Regions from separate parts of the Homo sapiens genome. Here regions 2, 3, 4 and 5 are each linked to region 1. Evidence: promoter capture Hi-C in 16 types of primary human blood cells and fetal thymus (Javierre and others, 2016). All regions are on one chromosome and are shown on one strand. Each heading gives the region's core, a stretch centred on a gene start or on the middle of the fragment in contact. The rest is flanking DNA. Distances are from core to core; before and after follow the strand shown.

Evidence for each region. The method cuts DNA at HindIII sites, captures the fragments that hold promoters and counts their contacts. A CHiCAGO score of 5 or more calls a contact.
Region 2: a fragment that was not itself captured here is called in contact with the fragment with the promoter of WWC2-AS1 in region 1 in 4 of 17 cell types (megakaryocytes, erythroblasts, M1 macrophages and 1 more); the score reaches 16.5 in megakaryocytes.
Region 3: a fragment that was not itself captured here is called in contact with the fragment with the promoter of WWC2-AS1 in region 1 in 2 of 17 cell types (megakaryocytes and erythroblasts); the score reaches 8.5 in megakaryocytes.
Region 4: a contact is called between a fragment that was not itself captured here and the fragment with the promoter of WWC2-AS1 in region 1, in 10 of 17 cell types (megakaryocytes, erythroblasts, M1 macrophages and 7 more). The highest score is 34.0, in megakaryocytes.
Region 5: a fragment that was not itself captured here is called in contact with the fragment with the promoter of WWC2-AS1 in region 1 in 1 of 17 cell types (megakaryocytes); the score reaches 6.0 in megakaryocytes.

Annotation. Positions count from the first base shown.
Region 1 is chr4:183,239,329-183,242,028 of GRCh38, forward strand. It overlaps WWC2-AS1 (WWC2 antisense RNA 1), which reads right to left and starts at 1,306. Exons shown (of 2, transcript NR_126473.1): 1 at 1,196-1,306. It overlaps WWC2 (WW and C2 domain containing 2), which reads left to right. Exons shown (of 23, transcript NM_024949.6): 5 at 855-934. The HindIII fragment of the contact is 11,540 bases long and covers 1-2,700 here.
Region 2 is chr4:182,919,067-182,921,766 of GRCh38, forward strand. No RefSeq gene overlaps it. Among named protein-coding and RNA genes, the nearest start is that of DCTD, 3.0 kb to the left of the region's middle. RefSeq lists an enhancer at 235-284. The HindIII fragment of the contact is 2,831 bases long and covers 1-2,700 here.
Region 3 is chr4:182,952,770-182,955,469 of GRCh38, forward strand. No RefSeq gene overlaps it. Among named protein-coding and RNA genes, the nearest start is that of DCTD, 37 kb to the left of the region's middle. The HindIII fragment of the contact is 3,427 bases long and covers 1-2,700 here.
Region 4 is chr4:182,935,621-182,938,320 of GRCh38, forward strand. It overlaps LOC105377577 (a long non-coding RNA gene), which reads left to right and starts at 1,805. Exons shown (of 3, transcript XR_939536.3): 1 at 1,805-1,960. The HindIII fragment of the contact is 5,264 bases long and covers 1-2,700 here.
Region 5 is chr4:182,896,602-182,899,301 of GRCh38, forward strand. The region is part of intron 3 of DCTD (dCMP deaminase); the gene reads right to left. Among named protein-coding and RNA genes, the nearest start is that of DCTD, 19 kb to the right of the region's middle. RefSeq lists an enhancer at 1,028-1,528. The HindIII fragment of the contact is 1,275 bases long and covers 679-1,953 here.

The sequences.
Region 1 (2,700 bases), core at 56-2,555:
AAACAACAGAAAAAAACTTAAGGCTCTAACTTAATATATGGAAGTAAGTTTCTAACCCTTGTGAGAAGACCTTTATTAGTTTGTGACTAAACCAGGCGTGTGCTGCTTTTCTGATCTGTCCAATTTTAGAATTGTTATTACCAAAGTATATATTTGACAACAGGAAAAATATATTTTATCAGTTTGACAACAAATATTTATTGATCATCTGCTGTTTGCTTGGCATGGTTGTAGATGCTTGGGATACAGCTGGTGGGTTGCAGCTTACTTTCCCACGGAGGACAGACAGTGTACACGGAGAATTTCAGCTCCTGAAAAATACTCTGGTCTAAATAAAACAGAGCCGTGGCAGGGGCAGGGGGGCTAGAGAAGTCCTATTTGAAAAGATAACATTTCAGCTAGCATTGGAGGGACAGGGAGTCAACTGCGGGAGATCTGGGGAGAGCTTTCCAGGCAGAAGGAACTGCCAGGACATCTGAGGAACGGAGGGGTGGGCAGTGGCCCTTGGCACAGTGAATGAAGGAAAAACACACACTTTTATAGAGATGCCATGACTTGGAGTTCTTATTCTGCCCATTTTGGTTGGAGACAATGATGATGTCCAGCTCATAAGAATGTTGCTAAGTAAGGTAATGAAGGTAAATAGTAGTAATAATACACATCACTGATAGTTTTAAACATCATTAATATGCCTTCCACAGAATTTATGTGAAGGAGAAACTGATAAAGTAAATGTTACTTTAACTCATGGCTTTGTTTATGTGTTTGTTTACTAATTTATTATCTTTTAAAACTGTAGACTGTGTTGCTAATTATCTGCAAACATTAATGTTTATGTTGATTTCTCTTTAAAGGTTAAAAAGCTAAAGAGAGAGCTCTCACAGATGAAGCAGGAACTGCTCTATAAAGAACAAGGCTTTGAAACATTGCAGCAGTGAGTATGAAAAGACTGAATCAACTTTAGAATAAGCTCCCTAACTAGTATGAATACAAAGAAAATAGAAGTACAGATTACATAAGCGATTTCTTAAAGAAACGTAAAGTAAAAAAGTTCAGAGCTCTACACCAAAAGAAAATAAAGCAATCAACCAACAGATAAAAAAACTTGGGAAAGATCTATGCACTTGAAAAGATCCAAAGTTTTTATTAATCATTGGAGATCCAAAGAAACCAAAGTGAAAAGCCTTTGTCTTACCTTTATCTCCTGGACCCTTGCTGGCCTCCTCTGAGATTGTGGTACAGAGCTAAGAGACTAGGCACAAGAAATTCCTCTCCACATTCGGCTGGGCTGGCTGTACTTGACCCCTGTGTGAGCCTGCAGCTGCCCTGGGCCCTTGGGTGGAGGCGTGTCTGTCTCTCTCTCTCTCTCTGCCAGCCCCAGGGATGACCTAGAGTCTAACCCTGACAGATGGCAGGGGAGCAAGAGCAAGTTAGGATTATTAGCAAAGGAGCGGGAGTGCGCTCCTCACTTCCTGGTTCCTCTACCTTTCCCGTTTGCTACTGAAGTTGGCTGGGCCGTTAGCAGAGCCCTAAGCTGGGCCAGGTAAAGTGGAAATGGAGGTGACAGAGGGTCACAGGATGAGGATATCCCTTCCGCATTCCCGGCCCCTGAAAGCCACTGTTCTCCCTGCTGCTGAGGCCCAGCCTATCCAAACCGTGACAGGCACACCTGAGACTTTCTAATCCTGCAGTCTCCACTCCACAGGGCCTCTCATGGGAGAGAAGCAGTCCATGGTTTTCACAGCCACATGACCACGGAGAGGAGTTAAAACTTCCCTCCTGCTTGGTGCCTCCAAGTGCGGTGCAGTATTTTTAGGGATGTCCCTGGTCAGTTTTGTGTTCAGGCAGGTTTCGTGTTCTTCCCGGCATCTCCCGTGGTAGCACCTCAGGAATGCCAAGCTGGTCTCAGGCGCCACCTCTGTGGAAAGTACCCAGCTGTGTTCCTTTTCCCTGTGGAATCTTACTTTACCTTCTGCTCTTATTTGGGATGCTCCAAGCAGCAAGCCCCTTTAAAGATCCTGTGTGTCACTGGCCAGATAAACAAACTGGTTGTTCTTGTTTGGGTGATTAGTCATATCTTGGGATACGCAGGCACTGCTCTTGACCACCAGTCAGACGCATGACTTTAATTTCACACGTGCTGTTATCATCCAGACTCCTTTTTTCCTGCTTACCGCATAGAATCATGACCCTGATACTCCTTCAGATGCTCCCATCCTAGTGGTTCTCAAACCTGACTGCATATTAGAATAATCTGGAGAGTGCTTAGAAAAATAATGTTTCTAGTCTCTATGCCAGGTATATTTTATGAGATCCCAAGTGCTTCTCAAGTCCAGCCCTGTTGTAAGAACCTCAGCTGGTTGCAGAGCTCCCCGATAAACCAGGCAGAACTAGAATGACATAAATGCATTATTTAGTAATTGTTTATCAGCATAAAGCAGGGCTTCGTGGTGGGGGTGGGGAGAGAAAACAGAGTTTGAAGAGTGCCGTAACGTGTTTAGCCATATGTTCCACATTTTTAAGGCACATGAAATTATAACTCGCGTCACCATTTGGGATTAAAGGTTAGCCAAACTTGCTGTCTTTGTTATATTGATGTAACAATGCTGTATTGTTTCAAAGCAGTTTGCTTGCAAGCAATTTTTATAGGAATCTAAGGCATGTTTAAGAATCTGTCAATAACATTCCACAAGAAAACAA
Region 2 (2,700 bases), core at 73-2,572, 320 kb before region 1:
CTGCCATAAATTCAAGCTCCTGCTTGCTGAAAACACATTACCCTGAATGTTCCCGCATTTCACTGAAAGTCCCTCATCTTAAAGATGACATCATTCATAATACAGGAAACCCTCCTGGTTCAGAGTTTCACAACTTGAGGTTTCAAATATTGTACACCAATAGTGAAGCCACGCGGCCAAAGGGGGGAGAAATATATTCCTTGGTATGTCTTTCTCATTAACACCTTGTAACTCCAAGTGTGACTGTAGGTGTTAAATCTCTCTTGCTAATACCTTGTATTTGGGCTTATAATTGAGGATCTTTCTCCACCTACTACAGATACAGAGGTTAGGTATGTGTTCAGCCCTATCTAGATTGGCCTTCCTTGAGGGCCTCACACAGGTTGAACCCAATCAGCACATTCCTAAGGACTACTGTCTTGGCCCTTTTGTTTATGGGGTTTCGTGCTATCTATGTCTAGTCTAGAGCATAACCTGGAATATATTAATATTTCAGTGTGCCTTAGGTAGGGGATCCCGATTAAAAACAGAAGTCAAGGTAAGACTCTTCCAGGGCTGCCTCAGAAGAGGGGTTGATGGCATTTGCAAATGTCTGCCGTACCGAGATACTACCTGCCCCTCCTTCCACCTCCTCTGCCTGCCAAGGTAAGGATGAGACCTGTGACTGGGGAAACAGAGGCAAGGAGTCAGGAAGGTGGCCAATCTGTCCATCAAGTTTGTCATGAGAGAAAGAGCACCGGCCTTGGAGTCAGACCAGACTTTGAACCCTACTCCCACTTCTTACAACCCGAGTAACCTTGAGAAGCTACTTCCATTCTTGGAGTCTCTGTAAAATCAACAATATTCATTTTTTATTAATTCCCTGCTATGTGCTAAGTGCTGTAAATACCATGATGGATACTATAAGCCAGTTCTTGCCCTCACATTCCCCTCTCCGCAAATAAACACAGAAAAAAATGAACCTTATTGCTGGCCCAGTGAACATAGTAAATGTTGTTATAAACTGCCTGTTGTTCTTAATTTGGTGGTTGTCAGTCAGGACCAAAAACTCCTTTGCATAACAACTGCACTTAGAGGCAAAGTGCCACTTTGACTGGTTTTCAAAGGAATAATTGTTTATGTTTCCATGCTAAAGTGCAAACTAGAGAAAACTCTTTTTAAATCTTAAGTAAGGGATGACTGTAAGTCTGCTAAACCACAAAAAAGTCACAATGAAAATTCTAGAAAAAAATAAATATGTGGTCTTATCAATACAGTACAGGTTGAGCATCCCTAACCTGAAAATTCAAAATCCAAAATGCTCTAAGATCTGAAACTTTTTGAGTGCTGACACTCCCACAAGTGGGAAATTCACACCTGACCTCATGTGATAGGTGCACAAAATTATGAAAAATATCCTGTCAAACTACTTCCAGGCTATGTATGTAAGGTGTATATTAAACATAAATATATATTGTGTTTAGATTTGGGTCCCATCCCCAGGACACCTCATTACATATATGCACATATTCCCAAATCTGAAAAAATCCAAAACCTGAAACACTTCTGGTCCTAAGCATTTTGGAGAAGGGATATTCAACCTGTATATACATTTTCGTATGTATGTTAGAGCATGAGGTCAGTTGTTTGTGTTCCATGAAGGGCATACAGACTGCAAATTGACATGACAGAGCACTCCTATCAGAAAAAAAATCAGGATCCCTAAACAGCGTTTTTGTTATGAGTTGAAGCCACCAATTACTTTGTCATTATACATCTTCAAAATTACAATGAAGGGCCGGGTTTGTTGTAATGAACTCACTCCTGTAATCCCAGCAAAGTGGCAGGCCAAGGTGGGAGGATCGCTTGAGCCCAGGAATTTGAGACCAGCCTGGGCTATGCAAGACCCAGTCTCTGCAAAAAAAAAAAAAAAAAAAAGTTTTAAATGAGCCAAGCATGGTGGTGCATGCCTGTAGTCCCAGCTGCTCAGGAGGCTGAGGAGGGAAGATTGCTCGAGCCTAGAAGGTTGAGGCTGTAGTGAGCTGTGACTGCACCACTGCACTCCAGCTTGAGTGACAGAGGGAGACCCCATCTCAAAAAAAAAAAAATCTTTTTTTTCAATGAAGATCAATAAGGAAATGTTAACATGGCATATGCACAAAGCTGGGTGTTTTGCCGTTTTTTATTAATAAATATTTGTTGACTAAATAAATGAGTTAATAGAAAATCATTGTTCTATGCCAAATTGTTTGGAGCATCTAACTCATAGAGAGAAGTCTTTGTCTGTGAACTCTGGTTCTACTTCCCTATCCGCCTCCTTTTTCTCCTTGCAATTCATAGACCTGGAGAGACATTTGATAAGTGAGACATTGGGGCTGGTGGGTCAGGGAAACAAGAGTGAACAGTATCATTTTAAGGAGGCATGGATCTCAGTCCTAGGATTTGGGGCTTGGCCTGAAAATGACCATCTCTCGTACAGCAGAGCTGAAGGCGGAGGGGAAGGCTGTCTCCTCTTTCCTGGTGTGATGCCTCTCCCCATGACTTCTTTGCTTCTACAGAGCTGAACTTGTAGCCTCTTTCATACACAACTGGTTGAAGTGGATGGAAATTACATGTCTTATTGCTTCTTAAAAGAAAAAAAAACATATTAAATCTAAAAGAAATGGGCAATTTTCTCGTACCACTTTCTATTTCTGTGTAAGTTACCAAGTGCCAATCATT
Region 3 (2,700 bases), core at 55-2,554, 290 kb before region 1:
TGAAACCCCGTTTCTAGTAAAAATACAAAAAAATTAACTGAGTATGGTGGCGGCCACCTGTAATCCCAGCAATTCGGGAGGCTGAGGGAGGAGAATTCTTTGAACCCGGGAGGCAGAGGTTATGGTGAGCCAAGATCGCGCCACTGCACTCCAGCCTGGGTGACAGAGCGAGACTCTGCCTCAAAAAAAAAAAAAAAAAAGAATGGCTGATGAAAAAGTAGAGGTCAGCTGAGCGAACAATGCCAGTGTCATCATGCCCCCTCATTAGTAGGACCATATGTAGACAATGTGAAAAAATGGGGTTCTAGCCTAGGCCCACTTACAGTGGGGCTCCCTCACACTCATTTGGTGGTCATCATCCTGGTTCCAGAATCCATGACCTGGGTGGGCACACTGAGCCACTAGCAATATCCCCACTTGACTCTGTGACTTGTGAAGTAAGAGGAGTAGTATCCTACTTATAGCAGGCGGTGGCCAATCAGAAACAACAGCACAACATAACAGGTGGAATGGCAGAGATTAAGACAATCTTCGGAGACTTTAAAGGATACAAGGGTGGTGGTCTTCATTACATCCCCATTTTTTTTTTTTGAGACAAGGTCTAGCTCTGTTGCCCAGGCTGGAGTGCAGTGGCACAATCTTGGCTCACTGCAGCTTTGACCTCCCAGGCTCAAGCGATCCTCCCACCTTTGCCTCCTGAGTAGCTGGGACCACAGGTGCGCACCCCCATGCCCAGCTAATTTTTGTATTGTTTTTTGGTAGAAACAGGGTTTTGCTGTGGTGCCCAGGCTGGTCTTGAACTCCTGGGCTCAAGTGATCCACCCACCTTGGCCTCCCAAAGTGCTGGAATTACAGGAATGAGCCACCACGCCTGGCCTATATCCCCATTTTATTACCAGTCTAGCCCCTGTAAAAACCAGATGGCTCATGACAGATGACAGTAGACTTCTACAAATATAATTAGGTGATAGCCCCAATGGAAGCTGTTAATCCAGAAGTGTCTTCTCTAGAACAGACGATCACTGTCTTTGCAAATGTGTTCTTTTCTCACACCCATCAGGAAGTAGGATCAGAAGCAGACTGCAGTCACTTTAGATGGACAACAGTGAACATTTATGGCCCTGTCTCAGGGCTACGTTACTTCTGAAAATACAGTCAGAAGAGTTCTGCTGTTACATAGAACAGCCCACTGGTCTACTTTATTGATGTCATTGTGTTCATCAGACCTGATAAGCTGGAAGTGATAAATATCCTAGACACCCTGGTAGGACACACGTGCTCCAGGGGACGAGAGAGAGACTAGAAAGATTCAGGTGCCTCACACAATGCTGCAGTTATTAGGAGTCCAGTCATCTGGGGCGTGTTGCAATATCCCCTCCAAGGTAAAAAACAAGTTATTTCGCCTTATATCTTGGCCCATGCAGAAAAAAGTGCAATATTTAGTAAGCCTCTTTGGTTTGGGAAGCAGCATACTCCATGCTTGGGATCATCTCTATGACCAACTTATTGGCTGGCTCAGTGCTGCTGGTTTTGGCTGGGGTCCAGAACAAGAGAGCGCTCTGAAGCAGATTCAGCCTAGGAGGCAAACAGGACTGCTGCTTGGGCCTCATGTCCTGGAAGATCCCTTGGTTCTGGAAGTATCTACAGTAGACAAAGACGTTACATGAAGTCTCTGGAAATTCCCTGTAGAAGCGATACAGCACAGAACCCTAGAATCCTGGAGCAAGGCCATGTCATCTGCCAGATGAAAGTATACACCATTCGAAAAGCAGCACCTTTCATGCTAGGGGACCCTGACCCTGGTGAAAACTGAGTGTCTCACATGGGACATCAAGTGATGCTGACACCAGAACTGCCTCTTAGGAGCCAGCAAACCACCAGACATACTGTTGGTGATTCCAGCAGGATTCCACCGTATGATGGGAGGGAGCAGTGTGTTTGAGATCAGGCTTGAGCTAGTACAGAGGCCACAAGTGAGCTGTCAAACCCAGCCACCCAGACCCAATGCTACCTAACCCTCCTGCGCTATACTGAACAGCATCCCCCAAATTCATGTCTACATCAACCTCCGACTGTGACTTTATTTGGAAATAGGGTCTTTGCAGACATAATTAGTTAAGATTGGGTCATACTAGATTAGGGTGGCCCTAAATCCAATGAATGGTGTCCTTACAAGAAGGCCATGTGGGGGCCAGGCACAGTGGCTTACACCTGTAATCCCAGCACTTTGGGAGGCCGAGGTGGGTGGATCACTTGAGGCCAGGAATTGGAGACCAGCCTGGCCAACACAGCGAAACCCCATCTCTACTAAAAGTACAAACATTAGCCTGGCGTGGTGGTGCAGGCCTGTAATCCCAGCTACTTGGGAGGCTGAAGCACAAGAATTGCTTGAACCCAGAAGGCGGAGGTTGCAGTGAGCCGAGATCGTGCCACTGCGCTCCAGCGTGGGTGACAGAGCAAGACCCTGTCTCAAAAAAAAAAAAAAAAAAAAAAAAAAGAAGAAGAAGAAGAGAAAGGCCACGTAGAGAAGGAGGTAGAAATGGGAGTTACGCTGCCACAAGACACATGAAGACCCCAGAAACTAGAGGAAGCACAGCATTCTCTTCTAGAGCCTTTGGAGGGACTTTTGCCCTGTTGTCACCTTAATTTCAGACTTTCAGCCTCTAGATCTGTGAGATAATAAATTTCTATTGTTTTAAG
Region 4 (2,700 bases), core at 134-2,633, 300 kb before region 1:
ATCTAGAACTAGAAATACCATTTGACCCAGCCATCCCATTACTGGGTATATACCCAAAGGACTATAAATCATGCTGCTATAAAGACACATGCACACGTATGTTTATTGCGGAACAATATTTCTTTGGAATCAACTAGTGTCAGAGTTACTTCCTTAGGCCCATACCAGACTCACCCACATCTGTTACAGCCTGACCATACAAAAGGATCCCTTTTGCTCTGGGAGTACCTTGCATCTTGGTCCTCCAAGAAAACAGAAGTGGCACACGCATCCACCTCTTCTAGAAACCAGGTGCCCTGGTTGGATAGGATGTTTTCTTGTTGAGGTAGGCTGCACTTGCATGGGAAAAAAAAATGGCATGGTGACCTCTTATGCTCATTCTAAACCAGTTGGAATAGTTCCAGGGGAATCCAGCCTCACAAAACTGACCTTATTAGGTGCCAATTGGTATGTATTGGTCATGAGATAGATGAGAGGCAGGGCAGGATTGTTGTCCAGGTAGCGATGGGAAATTGAGTAGGGTCCATTCTGCTTGGCTTTAGCCATCCACACTCTTAATATGCCAGCCTAAAGATTATTGTCTTGCAACCTTCTGTTTATTATTGAACAATAAACTAAACATACTATGTGACAATAACTTCCCTGGGGAAGGTTTATTCCAGTGAATGATGTAGCTCTTGGCTCCATACTTCCTCAGGAGTTCCAGATGATTCCATTCCCTGAATTTCTGCCCATCACTCTGCTCTCCCACTTACCATAACAGATGGTGGAGAAGTTCCTGTACCCAGAAAGCTGTTACTGCAGCTTCCTCTCACATATTGCCAGTCTGGCTGCCCATGGACAGACTGATATCAAGAAGGAGACAAAGGAGAGGTTGCAGGAAAGTAAGAGTGATCAAGAGTCAAATATGGCCAGGTGCAGTGGCTCACGCCTGTAATCCCAGCACTTTGGGAGGCTGAGGCGGGTGGATGACCTGAGGTCAGGAGTTCGAGACCAGCCTGGCCAACATGGAGAAACCCCATCTCTACTAAAAATACAAAAAATTAGCAGGGTGTGGTGGTGCATGCCTGTAATCCCAGCTCTCAGGAGGCTGAGGCAGGAGAATCGCTTGAACCCGGGAGGCGGAGGTTGCGGTGAACCGAGATCGAGCCATTGCACTCCAGCCTGGGCAACAAGAGCAAAACTCCATCTCAAAAAAAAAGAGTCAAATATGGCAGAGGCTGTCATAGAGCAAGAGAGCGTTCCATCTTCTAGACGCTCCACTCAGAGGAACCGAGAAACTTGAGCTTGCACTTCTAGAGCACTGCAGGTCTCCCCAGGAACCCTCAGGAATAACCACCTTCTCCCCAGCCTTGACCATGAAGGAAAGTTCAGTGGGATGAACCCCAACAGGAAGGCAGGGGGCAGAAAAAAGAGAGAGAAAGTCTGGGAGAAGTTCTTCCAGACACACAGCTCAGCTGACTCTGAGTGAGATTATTAAAACCAATGAGAAAGAATGGAAATCACTGGCACCACCCTTTGGGCCAGCTGTCTTGAAAGCGTGCTCCATAGACCAGTGTCTGTCTTTGCACTGCATGTTGAGTGTGTGTGAAAAGTACAGACATTGAAAGTAACCGTTTAGAAACAATTAAAGCAATCGGACAGAGTAATTCTCTGTCTATTGAATCTAATAATAAAAACCTGGGACCTGTATTTTGTATGTCTTCATTTTTTTTCTAGAAATCCCTTGATCTTATTTGACAAAAAATATAGATTCGGTACAGATCGTGGGGAAATCCCAGGTCCTCCCTCCCAGACTATTTGAGAAGCACTGTTTAAGACTAATGTTTGTAGTGAAGTCACAGTGAGAGCATGTTCTTTCTGATGCAAACACACCCACCTCCTGCCCTCGTGTCCTGCAGGCTGACCTGAGAGCCAGCTGCATAGCTCAAGCCACAAAGGAACCTAGTTTTTGGAAAGGGTGAGTATGAAAATAATACAAGGTAAAGAAAAGAATGTTACTTAAGATCTACTTATTATCTAAATCCTGCCCCCTTTTCTTAAAGACTGGAAAGACAAAGAAAAATTGGATATGTTTAGAAGTAAATTACCTCCCAGGCAGCAAGAGAGATTTAGAGGCTGGAGGTAAAGTATCTCTTTCTTAAAGTTCAAAGAGTGTGACAAAAAGGTAGATATAGAGACAGATGAGAAAAAGAGAACAGAGAATGAAAGAGCTCAAAGCAGCCCTGTATTAGTTTGCTGGGGTTACCATAACAAAATACTACAGACCAGTGGCTTCAACAACAGACGTATTTTCTCACAGTTCTGGAGGCTGGAAGTCCAAGATCAAGGTGTCGGCAGGGTTGGTTTCTCCTGGGGTCTCTCTGCCTGCCTTGCAGACAGACAGCTGCCTGCCTTGCAGACAGACAGCTGCCTTCCCTCCCTGTCCTGACCAGGTCTCTGTTGTTTGTCTTAATTTCTTCTTTTAAGGAAACCTGTCATATTAGATTAAGTCCTAACCATAAGACCTTCTTCTACCTTAATTACCTCTTTAGAGGCCCTATCCCCAAATACAGTTCCATTAGAGGTTAGGGCTTCAACATGTGAATTTTGGCGGAAGGGGACACAACTCGGTCCTTGACAGGACTCAGACTTCAAGGACACTCAGGGTTGTGCTCAGCGTGGACTCCAGGGGGCAGCAGAGATTTGCAGCCGGCCTGG
Region 5 (2,700 bases), core at 66-2,565, 340 kb before region 1:
GTGCGAGGGCCCGGGCTTGGGAAGGCACAAGGTATGGCCACATGTGCGCTGGCCTTGGAGGGGCTCCCGTGACCTCTTCTCCCCCTTGTGACCAGGCTGCTCCAGAGCTGGGTTTCACGCTGCTTGGTGTTAAAAACAATTACATGTAATTGTTTCTTTTATTTCCCCCTTGAGGGCAGAGCCCAGCCTAGGTTCTTTGTAACTCCCCCAGAGTCTAATGTGATGCCATGAACATAATGGGTGTTAAATATTTATCGAATGAATAAAGGAGGAAATGCAGATTCCAATTATTGATGGTGACGTTCGGAAGTACTGGAAGTCCTCTTAAATTCAAATATCAGAAATATGCTCTCCCATCTAATAAATACTTTTGGATGGTGCTGGTATTAATATTCAGAACTGCAGAGCCTCTGCATCTGTTATGAAACACTATGATAGCGTCCTCTAAGAACTGTCACGCTCACTGCCATGAGCTTCCTCTACTTCATCCCAGGCAGTTTGGGGCAAAATTTAACAGTATAGGTCTGGATTCATTAGTGAAAATTACCATATGAAACAGATTCTCTTGGGCAGCATCTGACATCCCTGTGTACAGAGGGCGATTTATAGAAATAATGCACAGCATTATAAACAGACTTCCTTTCTTTTAACCAAAAAATCACAAGATGAAGAATGTAAAGCTTCTTGTTAAAAAATATATATATATGAATATTAATATTAAAAATAAATATTAAATATATATCATATCTGAATATTAATACCAGCACCATCAAAAAGTATTTATTAGATGGGAGAGCATATTTCTGATATTTGAATTTAAGAGGACTTTCAGTACTTCCCAACATCACCATGAATAACTGGAATCTGCATTTCCTCCTTTATTCATTTGATAAATATTTAGCACCCATATATATATATATATATTTACATATATATAAAGCTACTGGGCAATATGAACAGTAGTGTGTCGGGTACACATGAGACTCTAAAAGGAACAATCCAAAATCCCACATACGCAAAAGTGGACACTGACAAGCAGGAAACTCAAGTGTTCGGTGGAGGGTGTAAGATCAGCCCCACCCTGGTCTCTCTTGCTGGTTCCCGTACCCTTCCCCAGACCCCCTCAGCCCTGTCTTATGATCACAGGCTTGCCCGACCCGCACCTGCGGGGCTGAGGAGAGAAGCCCCAACCCAGAGGAGCACCTGAGGCCGCAACCCAGCCCTGCCCCCTTCGTAACTCCCAGCTGCCGCCTGTTGTGGTCCTGAAATCCAGCTTCACCTTTGTGGCTGACACTCGTCTATCAGCTCCAGGATCTCCATAGCCCTGAAACTCTGAACCTTGCTGTCCCCCAGGCCGCCCTGTACCTCCTTTTGGGCCTGTCCTGAGGAGACAGGACTCAGCCAGGCCTCAGCCCCCAGACTGTCCTCAGAGAGGAAACTAGGGAAACTAACTTGATGACTTCCTCCAATTTGTTTAAAGCAGGTGGGTCAGAGTAAAGTTTGGGGATTCATTTACTTGTGTCGACTGGCCATCGACACTGATCAAATAACAGGCACCTGCCAAATCCACTTCAGGCCACAAAGAGCACTCGATGACTGCCTGGCCTGTGACGAGCTCATGCCTGCCCTGGCTGGCCAGACCACCACAGGCCAAGCATCCTCCCCTCTGTACTCTCCACCTCTGCCAGCGAGTGTGGACAAAGAGCTTTGCAACAAGGGCAGCACGAGGGCTCAAGGTCCAATTTGCTGCTTGGAAGCCGGATGACCTTCGACAGGGTGGCTGAGCGCTCTTGTAATTTGCAGGAGTGACAGTGGATCTGAGAAAGTGCATTTCCAGCTAACTAAATAAAAGCAATTTAAAAAATACCAAGTACATCCGATGTCTTTGCTTTTTTCCTAAGGTTTCCAGTTTCATTCCTCAATCCTCCAGAACAGGTGACTTTCTCTAAAACAAGCTTTCACTATCAAAACACGGCCTCCTCTCCCCAGGCAAACACAAGGCCGTGCTCCCAGCCCCTTCCTCCCTCCATCTCTGAGGGCTCCCGCTTCTCTCTGCTCGTTTTTCTTCTCCTGTAAGCATGCATACTTAGTCCTTAGTCTAGAGAGGTCATCTTGTCAGCCTTTTAGGATTCTTTTTTTCCTCCTTTCAAGATGAAATCATCCTATCTACAATTGTTACTATAATTTATTTTTAAAATAATTGTCTTCTGACTTTGTAAGGCATACATAATCCCCAGTTTTCTCTAAAATAATGTTTTTCAAACTGCAGGTCATGAAATCAGTTCAATGAGTTACACCAGCTTTTTCTTCTGTTTTAATGAAATAGGTAAGAAGGGAAGGATAGAGGTCAGAATGGATCCCGCATACAAGGTTAAATACTATTCCTAAAAATTATGTTTCAGGTGTCAACTGTGTTTGCTGGGTCACCATATATCTGCCAATTTCCGTGGTGTAGACATTTTTTCACACAGCCAATCTCCCACTCCCAACATGACGTGTACTTGGGAAGCAATGCGCACAGTTGGCTCTGATGACCTGATGAGAGCCAGCTCCACAGGCCACAGGAGGGTCTCGTCATCATGAAAACCCAAGGTCTCTTCTGGCCTGGAACCTTTTGATTCACCTGCTCTCTTTGGACTCCTCTCTATTCTAAAACCTCTCAGGACCACCATACACTTGTGTTCTCTTTCTGCTTTACTT